3 separate regions of the Homo sapiens genome follow, and all the other regions are linked to region 1. Evidence: promoter capture Hi-C in human tissues and cell types (Jung and others, 2019). All regions are on one chromosome and are shown on one strand. Each heading gives the region's core, a stretch centred on a gene start or on the middle of the fragment in contact. The rest is flanking DNA. Distances are from core to core; before and after follow the strand shown. Region 1 holds the start of ZFP90 (ZFP90 zinc finger protein). Region 2 overlaps PRMT7 (protein arginine methyltransferase 7). Region 3 overlaps CDH1 (cadherin 1).

Region 1 (4,360 bases), core at 1,617-4,116:
GCCTCCCCAGTAGTTGGGGACTACCGGCATGCCACCACACCTGGCATTATTATTACTATTGTAGAAACAAGGTCTCACTATGTTGACCAGGATGGTCTGGAACGCCTAGGCTCAAGCGATCCTCCCTCCTCAGCCTCCCAAAGTGTGGGAATTATAGGCCACTGTGCCTGGGTACGGATTTTTCCTTTTCTTTCCCGTCATACTCTTATATAGCCTGGGAAAAGAGGGGTGGCATTGCGTCAGTGGTTAATAGTAACAGCAAATTCAGAATTCAGCACCCAGCTTCCTTTGATAAGACCTGAGAGGTTCTCACCCCAAATGTTTTCATCTTTCCTTAGAATGCAGAACTTAATCCTCAACTCTTGAGACCTGGTTACCAATTCTGGGACAGTAGGAAAAATTCCTCTTATTCTCTCATAGTAATAAGTGACTCCACTGCTGTTACTAAGCCAATGGCTCTCATCACACTCAAAATCCACACCCCTCATCACAACCTCCAAAGCCTTGTTCCATCAAGTCCCAGTCTACCTGCCCTACCTCTGCTCTGCTCACTCTCTTATCCCTCACTCTGCTAAGGTACATTAGGCATCTATCTGTTCCTAAGCACACCAAGCTTGTTCCCATCTGACAGCTTTTGCACCTTCAGTTTCTTCAGCCTGGAATTCTTTTCCCCTTATGCACCTGCAGTTGTTTTGTTGTTGTTGGGCTTTTTTTTTTTTGAGACAGAGTCTCCATCTCTCACCCAGGTTGGAGTGCAGTGGTGCAATCTTGGCTCACTGCAACCCCCACCTCCCAGGTTCAAGCGATTCCCCTGCTACAGCCTCCCAAGTAGCTGTGAGTACAGGCGCACGCCACCACACCCTGCTAATTTTTGTATGTTTAGTAGAGATGGGGTTTTACTATGTTGGCCAGGCTGGTCTCGAACTCCTGACCTCAAGTGATCTGCCCCCCTCAGCCTCCCAAAGTGCTGGGATTACAGGCGTGAGCCACCATGCCCAGCCTGCAGTTGCCTTAAGTTGCAGCTACTAAGTCACTTGCCTCAGAGAGGCCTCCCGGTCCACTCTAATTCATACTTGTGAATTATGCATTCTGCTAATTCCAGACCACTATATTCACAAAGCAGTGATAGAAAGCATTCATTAATTTTTATATATATTTTTTGAGACAGTCTCGCTTTGTCGCCCAGGTCGGAGTGCTGTGGTGAAATCACAGCCCACCACAACCTCTGCTTCCCGGGTTCAAACGATCTTCCCACCTCAGCCTCCCAAGTAGCTGGGACCACAGGCGCACACTATTGCAACCAGTTAATGTTTGTATTTTTTGTAGAGACAGGGTTTTGCCATGTTGCCCAAGCTGGTCTTTTAATTCCTGGGCTCCTCCCTCCTCAGCCTCCCTGTGCTATTGACGTGTTATTTCATTACTTGTTAGCCCCTTGCGCAGGATTTTGTGTTTGGGACAAGCCAACAGTGATGGAAATTTTCTCCCTTTTTTGTTTTGTTTTTTTTGAGATGGAGTTTTGCTGTTGTTGCCCAGGTTGGAGTGCAATGGTGCAATCTCGGCTCACCACAACCTCTGCCTCCCAGATTCAAGCGATTCTCCTGCCTCAGCTTTCTGAGTAGCTGGGATTACAGGCATGCGCCACCAAGCCTGGCTAATTTTGTATTTTTAGTAGAGACGAGCTATCTCCATGTTGGTCAGGCTGGTCTCGAACTCCTGACCTCAGGTGATCCGCCAGCCTCAGCCTCCCAAAGTGCTGGGATCACAGGCTTGAGCCACCGCACCCGGCATAAAGCATTTATTTTTGAATGTTCATATTTTTGATAAAGCAGTGTGACATCAGGAACATTTCGTTGCAGTCATTTTCTACCATGTTGGTATGCAATGCTCTAATGTTAAGAAATCAAGCTGAAATCTAGGAAATGTAGCCTGAATGTCTGTGATATATAAGACATAATTACATAAACGTAATAGCTGTATCTAAAAGTTGACCTATCTTTGTGTTGAAAATTTCCATCGGGCCGGGCGCGGTTGCCCATGCCTGTAATCCCAGCACTTTGGGAGGCCGAGGCGAGTTCGAGACCAGCATGACCAACATGGAGAAAACCTGTCTCTACTAAATATACAAAATTAGACGGGCCTGGTGACGCATCGCATGCCTGTAATCCCAGCTACTCGGGAGGCTGAGGCGGGAGAATCGCTTGAACCCAGGAGGCGGAGGCTGCGGTGAGCCAAAATCGCGCCATTGCACTCCAACCTAGGCAACAAGAGCGAAACTGTGTCTCAAAAAAAAAAAAGAAAATTTCCATCATTGTTTGCTTGTCCCAAACAAAATCCTGCGTAAGGGGATACGAAGTAATGAAATAACACGGCAGTAGATCTGCCTTTGCACATTGCTCAGGAGGCCACGGATTTGTCCGAAGTTTCTTTTTTCTCTAAAATGAGAAATGGAAAATTGCCTTTTGAAGAAGATGTAAATGCCCCACCCTCTGACGCTGTCTCACTCCCTTCCTGTGTCACTCTTACCGCTGAAGTCAGGACCTGACATTATCTTGTTGACATGTTTGCGTTTTTATCGTCAGCCTCGTCGAAAGGGGCGTACGATTGCTCCCCGAAACCAGGGTCTTTCCCGGCCGATTCCCCAGCTAGCAACAAGCCCCTTGCAAAGAGGAGGCGGACAGTGACTGGAATACAGGGACACGCACACTCGAGCCACACTGGCCGCCTCCCTCGGCCCTCGCAAGGGTCCCTAACGCGCCTTCGGAAGCCGCCTAGGCGGGGCCTGCGCGCGCGGGCCTCTGGGAAGTGTAGTTCGCGCGCCCGGCGTGGACCCGGGGTTGCAGGAGCGAGGCTCCGAGTGCGCAGGCGCACTTCCAGTTCTGCCCCACCGCTGCGGCCATTGTCCGACCCCGGTGCGGCTGAGGCCCCTTTGGGCAGCCCCTCCGCAGATCAGAATTGGAGATAACCGAGGCTTCGGCGGGGGCGGGAGGAGCTGCCCGAGGCTCTGGGTGGGCCGGAGGTCGCGAAATCCGGAGCCCCCCAGAGGCGGTGATTCTGAGTGCGCGGGTCTGGGCGGGACCCCTCCTGGGTTTGGCGGGTGTCAGCCGGGCCTCGCCCACCACCCTGCGAAGGGGACTGGGCGTGGCCGGAGGGGGGTGTCCGGGAGGCCGCTGAGCCTTTCATTTCGGGGATGGGGAGCGGCAGGCCCGGGCTGGTTCCACGGTCCTCGCCACCATCTCCCCTGGAGATGTGGTTTAGGGGCGGAGGTGGGGCGGGGCGGGGCGGGGTGGGGTCGGTGTTGCAGCGGGGTGAGTGGGCCCTGTCCTTTCTCCCCAGCTCCTGCCCCGGAGCCGGGCCCTGGCGAGGCAGGAATGGCCCCGAGGCCTCCGACCGCCGCGCCCCAGGTGAGCAACGCGTTCCTAACCTCCTGGGCATCCCATCCATCTATCCATCCCATCTCCCAAGGGTGTTTGGAGCAGTCATTGTTCTCTGCCTGGCGACTCCCTTACTTGCTTGGCTCGATCGGAGCCTCCTGGCCATGGAAAACCCCAGGCTTTGGGGAGCTGGATTCCCAAAGGGGAGGCTGCTCTGTGGGGTAGAGAGGGCCAGTGTGGTGCGATCTTGTGGGAGGAGTTGAGATTGGATGCGTTGGGAAGTGTCAGTTTTGAGAGTCCTGAATGCCACGCCAGTTTTTTGAACTCTTGTCAATAAGAAATGGAGAGAGTGGGGTCACAGGATGGAACACTGTAGAGGAGGAAGTGACTGTCGGCAAGTGTGGAGAGAGGAGCCCCAGCTTCTGACCCAGGGCCCATAGAGAGTCCGTAAGGGGCCGTAGAAGCCTGGTTAGAACATGTCTAGGAAGAGGCTGGAGATGGGCTTTCTTGGGCAAGGAGGCAAAAACAAAACAAAATAAAAAACAACCAAAAATAAAACCAGGGCTGATTCTCCCAGAGCTTTTTGTGTCTGTCCTTTTCTGCTTTAACAAAAATGTAATAGAGCAACTCACTCCCCACCGCCAGAAGTCCAGCCTTCACCTTAATGTGAGGCTGATTCGTGAACCCATTTATTCTTGTGGCAGAGGGGGCATTTTCTAGAAGCGTCACAACTCTAAGGTTATCCATTGATTTACATATTGGTGAAAATACATCAAGATCCAGATGGTATCTGTATCTTTGAATCTACATTCTCTTTAGAATTAAGGGAAAATGACAGATTGTAGTTGCTAGGTGTGTGAGACATCAAGATCAATTCAAATAAAAATACCAAGTTGCCAGGTACAGTGGGTCACACCTGTAAGTCCAGCACTTTGGGAAGCTGAGGCAATAGGATCGTTTAAGCCCAGGAATTTGAGACCAGCCTGGGC
Region 2 (5,020 bases), core at 2,497-4,996, 210 kb before region 1:
GTTTTACATGCTAGAGCTCTTGGGGCTGTGGAATCTAGACTGGATAAGTTGAAAACAAAGAGTTGGAGGTGCTTATTTATGTTCAGGGAAACTCGAAGAGTTCAGGGAAGACTTCTGGATGGGGGATTCATGCTGCCCTGGGAAGTGGGGTTTGATTTGGCAGGTGGGGCCAGGATAGGGAAGGCTCAGTGATCATGAGATCATTGTGGCTGGAGTGTTGGTTGTTGGGGGAATGGGGGAGGAAGACTGGGAAGGTAAGGGAGGGCCTCCAAAGCAGTAGTTTCCCCTTATCTATGGTTTCACTTTTCGTGATTTCAGTTACCTGTGGTCAACTGAGGTCCAAAAATACTAAATGGAGCCAGGTGCGGTGGCTCACGCCTGTAATCCCAGCACTTTGGGTGGCTGAGACAGGTGGAAACCTTGAGTCCCAGAGTTGGAGACCAGCCTGGGCAACATGGCAAAACCCCGCCTCTACAAAAAGTAGCTGGGCATGGTGATCTACGCCTGTAGTCCCAGCTACTTGGGAGATTGAGGTGGGAAATTGCTTGAGCCTGGGAGGTGGAAGCTGCAGTGATCATGCCACTGGACTCCAGCCTGGACAATAGAGTGAGACCCTTCTCAAAAAAAAAAAAAAGAAAAATTAAATGGAAAATTCCAGAAATTATTTATAAGTTGTAAGTTGTGTACCATTCTGAGTATTATTACATAATTGTTCTATTTTTAGTTATTGTTAATTTATAAATTATTATTTATATTTATTATTGTGCCTAATTTATAAATTAAACCTGGTCATAGGTAAGCTTGGAGGCTGAAGCAGCTCCACTGTGAATGCTAATCCTCCACGCTGACTTCTGACCAACCCCAGCTTCAGGAATGCCTCTAAAATTTCCGCTCTCATGCACTTTGATGTAAATCCTGCCCTCAGGTCAGAACAACTTTGATGTTATCATAAATACATACTTACCGTAAATCCTGCCCTTCGTCAAATTCCCTGTGGTATGTAAGCCCTGCGTCTGAGCCATAACAGTGTGGGGGCCCAGTTTCTCACTGCCCGAGACAAGGCTTCTGTTTGTATGTCTCTATAAAGTGTGTCTTTCTGAGAAGCTGGATTTGCCAGTCTTTCCTCAGCCTCTCAGCTCCCGTGGCCTGTTGGGGTAGGTTTGCATAGAGCTGCCCACCATGGAACAGTATGTATGTATAGCAAAAAAAAAAAAAAAAAAAAAATGGTATACATAAGGGTCAGTACTGTCTGAGGTTTCAAGCATCCACCAAGGGTCTTAAAATGTATCCCCCATGGACAAGAGGCACTGCTGCACCATAAGAAAATAGAGGCTGTGTTCTGCCAACAGTGGGGATTTGGGACAATTTTGAGCCCAGAGGATGACCTACTTACTCACACCTACAGTCTGCTCTCCTCTGGAGGGCACAGCACGCCTCCCAGGTTCGTGAGGCAAGTCCCTTTCCTGGCTTTTTGGCGTCCTCTTGTGCGGTACTGACACCTACTGCTCTTACTAAGTAGTGCAGCCTCCTCAGGATCCCCGGCATCCCCGCTGTGCCTGGCACGGAATGAGAGTCCCTAATCACAAGTTAAAGCCAGCTGAATCTCAGCCCTTTTTCATGATGCACATTTGGAGAATAAAGTATTTAAGTTACATATCTTAGGACCAGAATCAAGGAATAGCTTGCTCACCTTAAAGGTCAGACTACTGTTTAATTTATTGCTCATTTTTCCTTGGGTTTCGGCTCTATTTTCTAGGTTTTCAAGCCTATGGCTGATGCTGCTGTGAAGATTGTGGAGAAAAATGGCTTTAGTGATAAGATTAAGGTTATCAACAAGCATTCCACCGAGGTGACTGTAGGTCCAGGTGAGATTTACACACCCTGTGTTGAAAGCTTTGCTTGCTCTTGTGTGAGAGAGGAAAAGGGTTATTCCAGTTACCTGGAACAAATCCAGGTCATAGCATAGAAGTGGGACCTCTCTGTGTGGAGCTCTGACAGTAAGGACTTGGTTTCTCTTGATGTTTATTTTCCTGCTAGTTAAAACTAGTCAACAAGGAGTAGACTAGAGCTAGTCAGGTCCAGCAATGGAGACGCAAACAAAACCTACATTTGCTTTAAGCAAATTGGAATTCTTATGGGGCTCAACTCTTGAGTTTCAACTACCAATAATTACGCCTTGGATAAACCTCATTGGCTACGATACTGCCACTGCTCAAAGCTCAACTCTGAGTTTCATCAGGCAGAAAGTACTTAGTTCTTTTATTTATTTATTTTTTTGAGAGAGAGTCTCACTCTGTCGCCCAGGCTGGAGTGCAGTGGCGCTATCTTGCCTCACTGCAAGCTCTGCCTCCTGGGTTCACCCATCCTGGCTAACACGGTGAAACTCTATCTCTACTAAAAATACAAAAAATTAGCCAGGCATGGTGGTGGGCACCTGTAGTCCCAGCTACTGGAGAGGCTGAGGCAGGAGAATGGCGAGAGTAGTTCTGACATTCTGCTTCTGCATACAACATGAACAATTTTCCTGTATAGCATTGTCTCTTAAGGTTTCCAGAATATGTATATGTACACACACACACACACACACACATATTTTTTTTTTGAGACGGAATCTCACTGTGTCACCCAGGCTGCATTGCAGTGGTGCAATCTTGGCTCACTGCATCCTCCACCTCCTGGGTACAAGTGATTCTCCTGCCTCAGCCTCCCAAGTAGCGGTGATTACAGGTGCCTGCCACCACACCTGGCTGCTTTTTGTATTTTTAGCAGAGACGGGGTTTCACCATGTTGGCCAGGCTGGTCTTGAACCCCTGACCTCAGGTGATCCGCCTGCCTCAGCCTCCCAAAGTGCTAGGATTATAAGCGTGAGCCACCATGCCTGGCCTCCAGAATATTTTTTATAGTCTAGAACTTTGTTTCAGTCTTTGAAAATTTCACATGCCACTGACACTTAGAGAACATAGTTGAAAGATTTGCAAAGGAAAAACTGTGGTGAAGTTATGGATAACACCATGGGTTTTTTCTAATTTTTTGTGGAGATAGGGTCTTACTATGTTGCCCAGGCTGGACTCAAACTCTTATGCTAAAGTGATCCTCCCATCTCAGCGACCCAAGTACCTGGGACTACAGGTGTGCACTACTGCACCTGGCTTTTTCACCACGGTTTTGGAGAATGCAGTATCATTCTGAATTGAAGCTTCTACCTAAGGTCAACATTATTCTCCCATTTAACAATTTTTTTTTAATGGAGAATCTGAAACATGTACAAAAGAAGTGGGTACTATCTTATTTATTTATTTATTTGAGACAGAGTCTCACTCTGTTGCCCAGGCTGGAGTGCAATGGCAGGATCTCAGCTCACTGCAACCTCTGCCTCCCATGTTCAAGCGATTCTCCTGCTTCAGCCTCATGAGTAGCTGGGATTACAGGCGTGCACCACCATGCCTGGCTAATTTTTGTATTTTTAGTGGAGACGGGGTTTCACCGTGTTGGCCAGGCTAGTCCCGAACTCCTGACCTCAGGTGACCAGCCTGCCTCGGCCTCCGAAAGTGCTGGGATTACAGGTGTGAGCCACCGCGCCCGGCCTATCTTTTTTATTTTTAAAATATACAATAGAGTGCTCAAATCATTCCATTTACAATCAACGTTATTGAAGTATGATTTACATTAAATGAATATCCATTTTCATTATGGATATTTGACAAATATAAACACACTTGTAACCACCATCACCATAATGAAGATAATAGAACATCTCCATCATGCCCAAAGAGATTCCTCATAACCCTTTCTATCAGTCCCCCCATATCCTGGTCCTAGGCACCCACTCATAGACTTCATTATAGATTAGATTTGCCTGTCTAGGATTTCAAGGAAGTGGAATCAAAGAAGTGTGGACTCTTCTGTGTGTGTGCTCTCTTTTTTATAGCGTGATGCTGGTAAGATTCTTCCACACTGTTCATGTCTTGGGGGTCCGTTCTTTTGTGTTACTGAGCAGCACTCTATTAGATAGATGTACCATAACTTGTTTATCTCTCTACCTGTTGATGGACAGGGATTTCTTGGATAGGTCTTTAGATTCACTGATCTTTTCTTTTGCAGCATCTAATATGCTGTTAAGTATATTTAGTAAACTTTTCATTTCTCTTTCTTTGTTGTTCTTTTTTTTTTTTTTTTGAGACAGGATCTTGACCTGTCCCCCAGGCTGGAGTGCAGGGGTGTGAGCATGGCTTATTGCAGCTTTGACCTCCTGGGCTCAAGCAGTCCTCCTGCTTCAGCCTCCTGTGTAGCTGGGACCACAGGCTCATGCCACCATGCCTGGCTAACTTAAAAAAAATTTTTTTTTGTAGAGATGGGATCTCAGTTTGTTGCTTAGGCTGGTCTCAAACTCCTGGGCTCAAGCGATTCTCCCACCTCAGCATCCCAAAGTCCTAGGATTACAGGCGTGGGCCGCTGTGCCTGGCCTCATTTTTGATATTGTATTTTTTAATCTCTGAAAGTTCCACTTGATTCTTTTTCATAACTTCCATTTTTCTCATGTTCATAGTTTTCTATAAGCACATTTATTTTAGCTTTTTGAACATCCTTATCTTCTGTTCCCACCATCTTTGTTTTTTCTGGGTTTGTTCTCTTGACTCATTTTTATCCTTATTCTGGGTCACATTTTCCTTCTTCACATGTCTAACCATTTTTGTTTGGATGCTGTGGCTATTTGGAATTCCCCATTGTTGAGTGCTAGACTTCGTTGGTTTTGCTTTTTAAACTTTGGCATGCAGTTGGGTTACTTGCAGTTCAGATTGATCCTTTCAGGGCTTGTTTAAGCTTTCTTTGGAGTGGGGTTAGAGTAGCTTTAAGTCAGGCCTTCTCAACAGTAGTGCTGTGACGTTTTGGCATTCTCCAACTATGTGACATTTTGATAATTCTTTGTTGTGGACCCTGTCCTTTGCATTGTAGGATGTTTAGCAGTGTCCCTGGCCTCTTCCCAGTGGATGTCAGTAGCACTCCCCTCCTCCCACCATTC
Region 3 (4,622 bases), core at 1,815-4,314, 230 kb after region 1:
AAAGAATTTTGAGGTTTGGGGCACCCAGATGCATAATTGCATAATAGCTATATGTATTTCTCAGATAGGGTTAAGGAAATGGGCAAAGGAGAAATAAGAATAAAAGATAAGAGGAGAGCCGGGTGTGGTAGTGTGCACTTGTATTGCCAGTTACTTGGGAGGCTGAAGCAGGAGGATCACTTGAGCCTAAGTGTTCCAGACCAGCTGGGGCAACATAGAGAGACCCCCATCTCTAAAAATATGTTATAAAATATTTTAATTACTTTTTTTTTTTTTGAGATGGAGCTTTGCTCTTGTTGCCCAGGCTGGAGTGCAATGGCACGCTTTTGGCTCACTGCAACCTCCGCCTCCCGGGTTCAAGTGCCCCAGACTCCCAAGTAGCTGGGATTACAGGCATGCGTCACCACACCCAGCTAATTTTGCATTTTTAGTAGAGACAAGGTTTCTCCACGTTGATCAGGCTGGTCTCGAAGTCCTGACCTCAGGTGATCTGTCCGCCTTGGCCTCCCGAAGTGCTGGGATTACAGGCGTGAGCCACTGCGCCCGGCTTAATTACGATTTAAGAAAAAAGATGAGTATAGGAAGAAGGTTGGATAGTGATGTGTTTGCCACAGACCTAGATCCCTGCTAAAAGCAGACCACAGATTTGACTCTGAGCAAAGAGGAAAACAAGATCAGTTGCGTAATTAGGTTTCTATGAGTTAAGCATAAATCTGTTCCTTAGAGAGGATCCAGTTTCTCCACAGAGCTCTTACCTTCATGTGATTTTGGCAACAGCTCTTAATACCTTGGACTTTCCATTGATATTTGTCATTTTGCAGCTAATACATGTTAGTTGTGGGGAAAACTTTGGAAAATATAGATAGCTAAAAGAAAAAAGCTGGGTGCAGTGGTACATGCCTATAGTCCCAGGTGTTCCCTGGAGGCTGAGGTGAGAGGATCAGTTGAGCCCAAGTGTTGAAGTCCAGCCTCCATAGGGAGATACCATCTCTTAATAAAAAGAACAAAAATATTTAAATTGTGTGTAAAGTCACTATCTAGATATCACCACCGGGGAACATTTTTGTATACATCCTCCTAGAAGTAAGGTCTCTATTATTATCTTATATGTTGTAATATAAATGCAAGTATAAGTAATGGCATTTTACTAAAGTAAATCGTTATCCAACACTCTCTGCCTCAGGGCCATGGTGCCTGCTGTTCCCTGTGCCCAGAGCACCCTTCCCCCAGGCATCCTCATGCCACTCTTGCTTATCTCTTTCCAGTCTCTGCTCAAACTGCCCCAGTTCTCAGCAGAGTCTGTCTTGGATAATAGCTCACATCTATACCCTTGTCACTGTACCGCCTACCCTGCCTTTTTTCCATGGCACTGATTACTATTCAATTTCATGATCTGCTTGTCTCCCTCTCTTTGAATATGAGCTCCTTGAGGGTGGGTCTGTTTTGTTCATTGCTGTACTTCTAGGGCTTGGGCTCAGAATTCTGCCCAGCATAGAGGAGGTCCTCAGATATTTGAATGACTCCACACAGCTATTTCTGTATTCATTACAAATACATCTATATCAATAACTACTGAAATATGCCTATAGAAATGTTTCATACAGTTAGATTTATGTGTATACTTTTTTTCAAAATCATGCTCTTGCTCTTCCTACTTCAATGTCTGTTGGCTGCTTTCTGATTCCTTTGAGGCAGCACATGGTAAGATGCCTCTAAATTGTACCGTGGCCTATCAGGTGTTCATAGAAAACCCTCTGCAAATGGAATTTCTTTTTTTTTTTTTCCTCTTTTTAATTGAGACAGGGTCTCACTATGTTGCCCAGGCTGGTCTTGAGCTCCTGGGATCAAGAGATCCTCCCGCTTCAGTCTCCCAAAGTGTGGGGATTATAAGCATGAGCCACTGTGCCCAACCTGCACATGTAATTTCATAATTAAAATATTTTATCCATGGCTGGGAGTGGTGGTTCACACCTATAATCCCAGCACTTTGGGAGGCCAAGGTGGGAGTATCGCCGGAGTCCAGGAGTTCAAGACCAGCCCGGGCAACATAGGGAGACCCCATCTCTACAAAAGATAAAAACATTAGCTGGGGCCTGGCGCGGTGGCTCACGCTGGGGACTACAGGTTTATGCCATCACGCCTGGCTAATTTTTTTGTATTCTTAGTAGAGACGGGGTTTCACCGTGTTAGCCAGGATGGTCTCAATCTCCTGAGCTCGTCATGATCTGCCCACCTCGGCCTCCCAAAGTGCTGGGATTACAGGTGTGAGCCACCGCAGCTGGCTTTTTTTTTTTTTTTTTTAAAGAAAATGGTAGCCTCTGATGGCTGCTGTCATGCCCCCGGTTGTTTTCAGGTCCAAGTCTATCTGGAGACCTTTCCTCCCTGTCAATTAGGGGTCCTTTCTTGGCTACTATTATGTTGCTTTCTTCATCTTTGCCTCAGAATCATAAAGTTGGAAGGGCTTTTGGGGCCACCTGGCCTAGCCCTCTCTGCCACCACCAGGTGTGTGCTCTGGGGAGCTCTGCCTCCTGTCCTAAAACTGTCACCTTCCTGACTGGGCCTGTCTTCCACAAGACATCGCCTGGCTAGACCCCCTCTGACTACATCTTTTCCTGTGCCTGGAAGGACCTCAGAGGTAAGTATTTGGGTCTCTTGTGTCCCATCCCCACTCCCGGAGCCCAAAGCTCAGTCCGCAGCACATAGAGGGCCCTTAGGGGATGTTCATGGACAGCTGAATGACTCTGCCTCTGCCTTCAGGTGGGTACCAGCCAGTTGACATCCAGATTCATTCAGAGCCTGCTGTGGGCCAGGCACCAGCCTCGCACCTTCAGGGAACGTGGCAATAAATAAGGATTTCAGAGGGCAGCACATTCTAGAAGGATGTAAAGCAGTGAAACGGGGTAGGGAGTGCCTGGGGTAGTGGTGCAGGGCCCCTTTAGCTGAGGAGTGGATCAGGCAGGAGGATGTTTGTGTGGTACCTAGTGGTAGAAAGGAGGACACCATGAAGAGAGCAGTAGGAAGAGAATTCCAAGCAGAGGAACAGCAAGGGCTGAGAGCCTGAGACAGGAAGGAGCGCAGTGTGTGGAGTGGGCAAGAGGCCCAGTGTGGCAGGGCCTGGTGGGTAGATGGGCTCACAGGCGGGAGATAAGCTGGGAGGGGAAGGCAGAGGCTAGAGCTGGTCTCTAGTTTTTTAGACCTTATCTTCTGAAGGACAGATAAGTGCCTCTGCCTCCATCAGCTTCCACCGAGACGAAGTGATGCAAACCAGACCGTGCAGCCAACTCCTGCGTCAGGTTCCATAGGAATCCTTTCCCCGCCAGTGGAGGAGGCTCTCCCGTCTTTTGGAAATGATGTGCAGGAGACAGAGCTGATTCTCATTTCTTCCATGGACACGGCTAAGTGCGGGCTGGTGTGTGAGAAAGGGTTCGGGGCGCGTGGTTGGTGGAAGTTAGCTCCTGGCTGTTCTGCCTTGCAGTCCCAGGCAACTCAGACCTTCCCTGGCTGCTACTCACACCTACGCTTTCCTACGCAGGCTCTGATCTTCTTTTTCAGCCCTAGAATCCCAGAATAGCAGCTAATGTGTATTGAGCCCTTTTTTCTTTTTCTTTTTAAGACAGGGTCTCACTTTGTCACCCAAGCTGGAGTGCAGTGCAGATCACAGCTCGCTGTAGTCTCGAACTCCTAGTCTCAAGCAATCCTCCCATCTGAGCCTCCCGAGTAGCTGGGACCATAGGCACGTGCCACCATACCTGGCTAATTTAAAAAAATTTTTTGTAGCCGGGCGCGGTGGCTCACGCCTGTAATCCCAGCACTTTGGGAGGTGGAGGCGGGTGGATCACAAGGTCAAGAGATCGAGACCATCCTGGCCAACATGGTGAAACCCCGTCTCTATTAAAAATACAAAAATTAGCTGGGCGTGGTGGCGCATGCCTGTAGTCCCAGCTACTAGGGAGGCTGAGACAGGAGAATCGCTTGAACCCAGGAGGTGGAGGTTGCAGTGAGCCGAGATCGCACCACTACACTCCAGCCTGGCGACAGAGCAAGACTCCCTCTCAAAAAAAAAAAAAAATTTTTTTTTTGTAAAGAGATCTCACTATGTTGCCCAGGCTGGTCTCAAATACCTGGCCTCTTGCCTCTGCCTCCTAAAGTGCTGGGATTACAGGCGCGAGCCACCGTGCCTAGCCCATTGAGCTTTTATTCTGTGTCTGACAGTGCTAAAGGGCTTTACGTGGATTAACTTGTTGAATCATCCCATCCCCTTAGGAAATAGAGACCATCACTATTTCTGTTTTGCATATGAGGAAATCGAGGCAGGCAGGAGAGGTGAAATCACATGCCCAAGGTGGCATAGTTGATAAGTGGATCTGGGGCTTGAACTTGGGTCGTCTGACCTCTGACCTGGGGCTCTCAACCACTTAATGCTACACTGGGACCCTGACTTAAGGACTCAGGGTCTAGGCTCCTTATCTCAAAATTGGCCCCGTGTTGCCACACAACGGCCAATCGCATATGTCCTTGCCTTGCTTACCACCTAATCGGGCAGGCCTAGCAGACAGGGACACTGCCTTTCTTATCCTCTTCGTGCCATGCATGGAAGGGCGGGGCTCCATTAGAACTTGGAA

What was found. The method cuts DNA at HindIII sites, captures the fragments that hold promoters and counts their contacts. A contact is called where the count stands out against the background at its distance.
Region 2: a contact is called between a fragment that was not itself captured here and the fragment with the promoter of ZFP90 in region 1, in 4 of the 25 tissues and cell types used here (dorsolateral prefrontal cortex, lymphoblastoid cells, pancreas and 1 more).
Region 3: a contact is called between a fragment that was not itself captured here and the fragment with the promoter of ZFP90 in region 1, in 2 of the 25 tissues and cell types used here (hippocampus and mesendoderm cells).

Annotation. Positions count from the first base shown.
Region 1 is chr16:68,536,425-68,540,784 of GRCh38, forward strand. ZFP90 (ZFP90 zinc finger protein) reads left to right here and starts at 2,867. Exons shown (of 5, transcript NM_001305203.2): 1 at 2,867-3,055; 2 at 3,334-3,401. The coding sequence starts at 3,369. The HindIII fragment of the contact is 20,432 bases long and covers 1-4,360 here.
Region 2 is chr16:68,327,310-68,332,329 of GRCh38, forward strand. It overlaps PRMT7 (protein arginine methyltransferase 7), which reads left to right. Exons shown (of 19, transcript NM_019023.5): 6 at 1,757-1,865. It also overlaps the pseudogene RNU4-30P. Among named protein-coding and RNA genes, the nearest start is that of PRMT7, 19 kb to the left of the region's middle. The HindIII fragment of the contact is 4,800 bases long and covers 1,347-5,020 here.
Region 3 is chr16:68,767,697-68,772,318 of GRCh38, forward strand. All of the region lies in intron 2 of CDH1 (cadherin 1), which reads left to right. Among named protein-coding and RNA genes, the nearest start is that of CDH1, 33 kb to the left of the region's middle. RefSeq lists enhancers at 397-541, 401-545, 2,055-2,199, 4,410-4,622 and cis regulatory regions at 469, 473, 2,127. The HindIII fragment of the contact is 7,823 bases long and covers 1-4,622 here.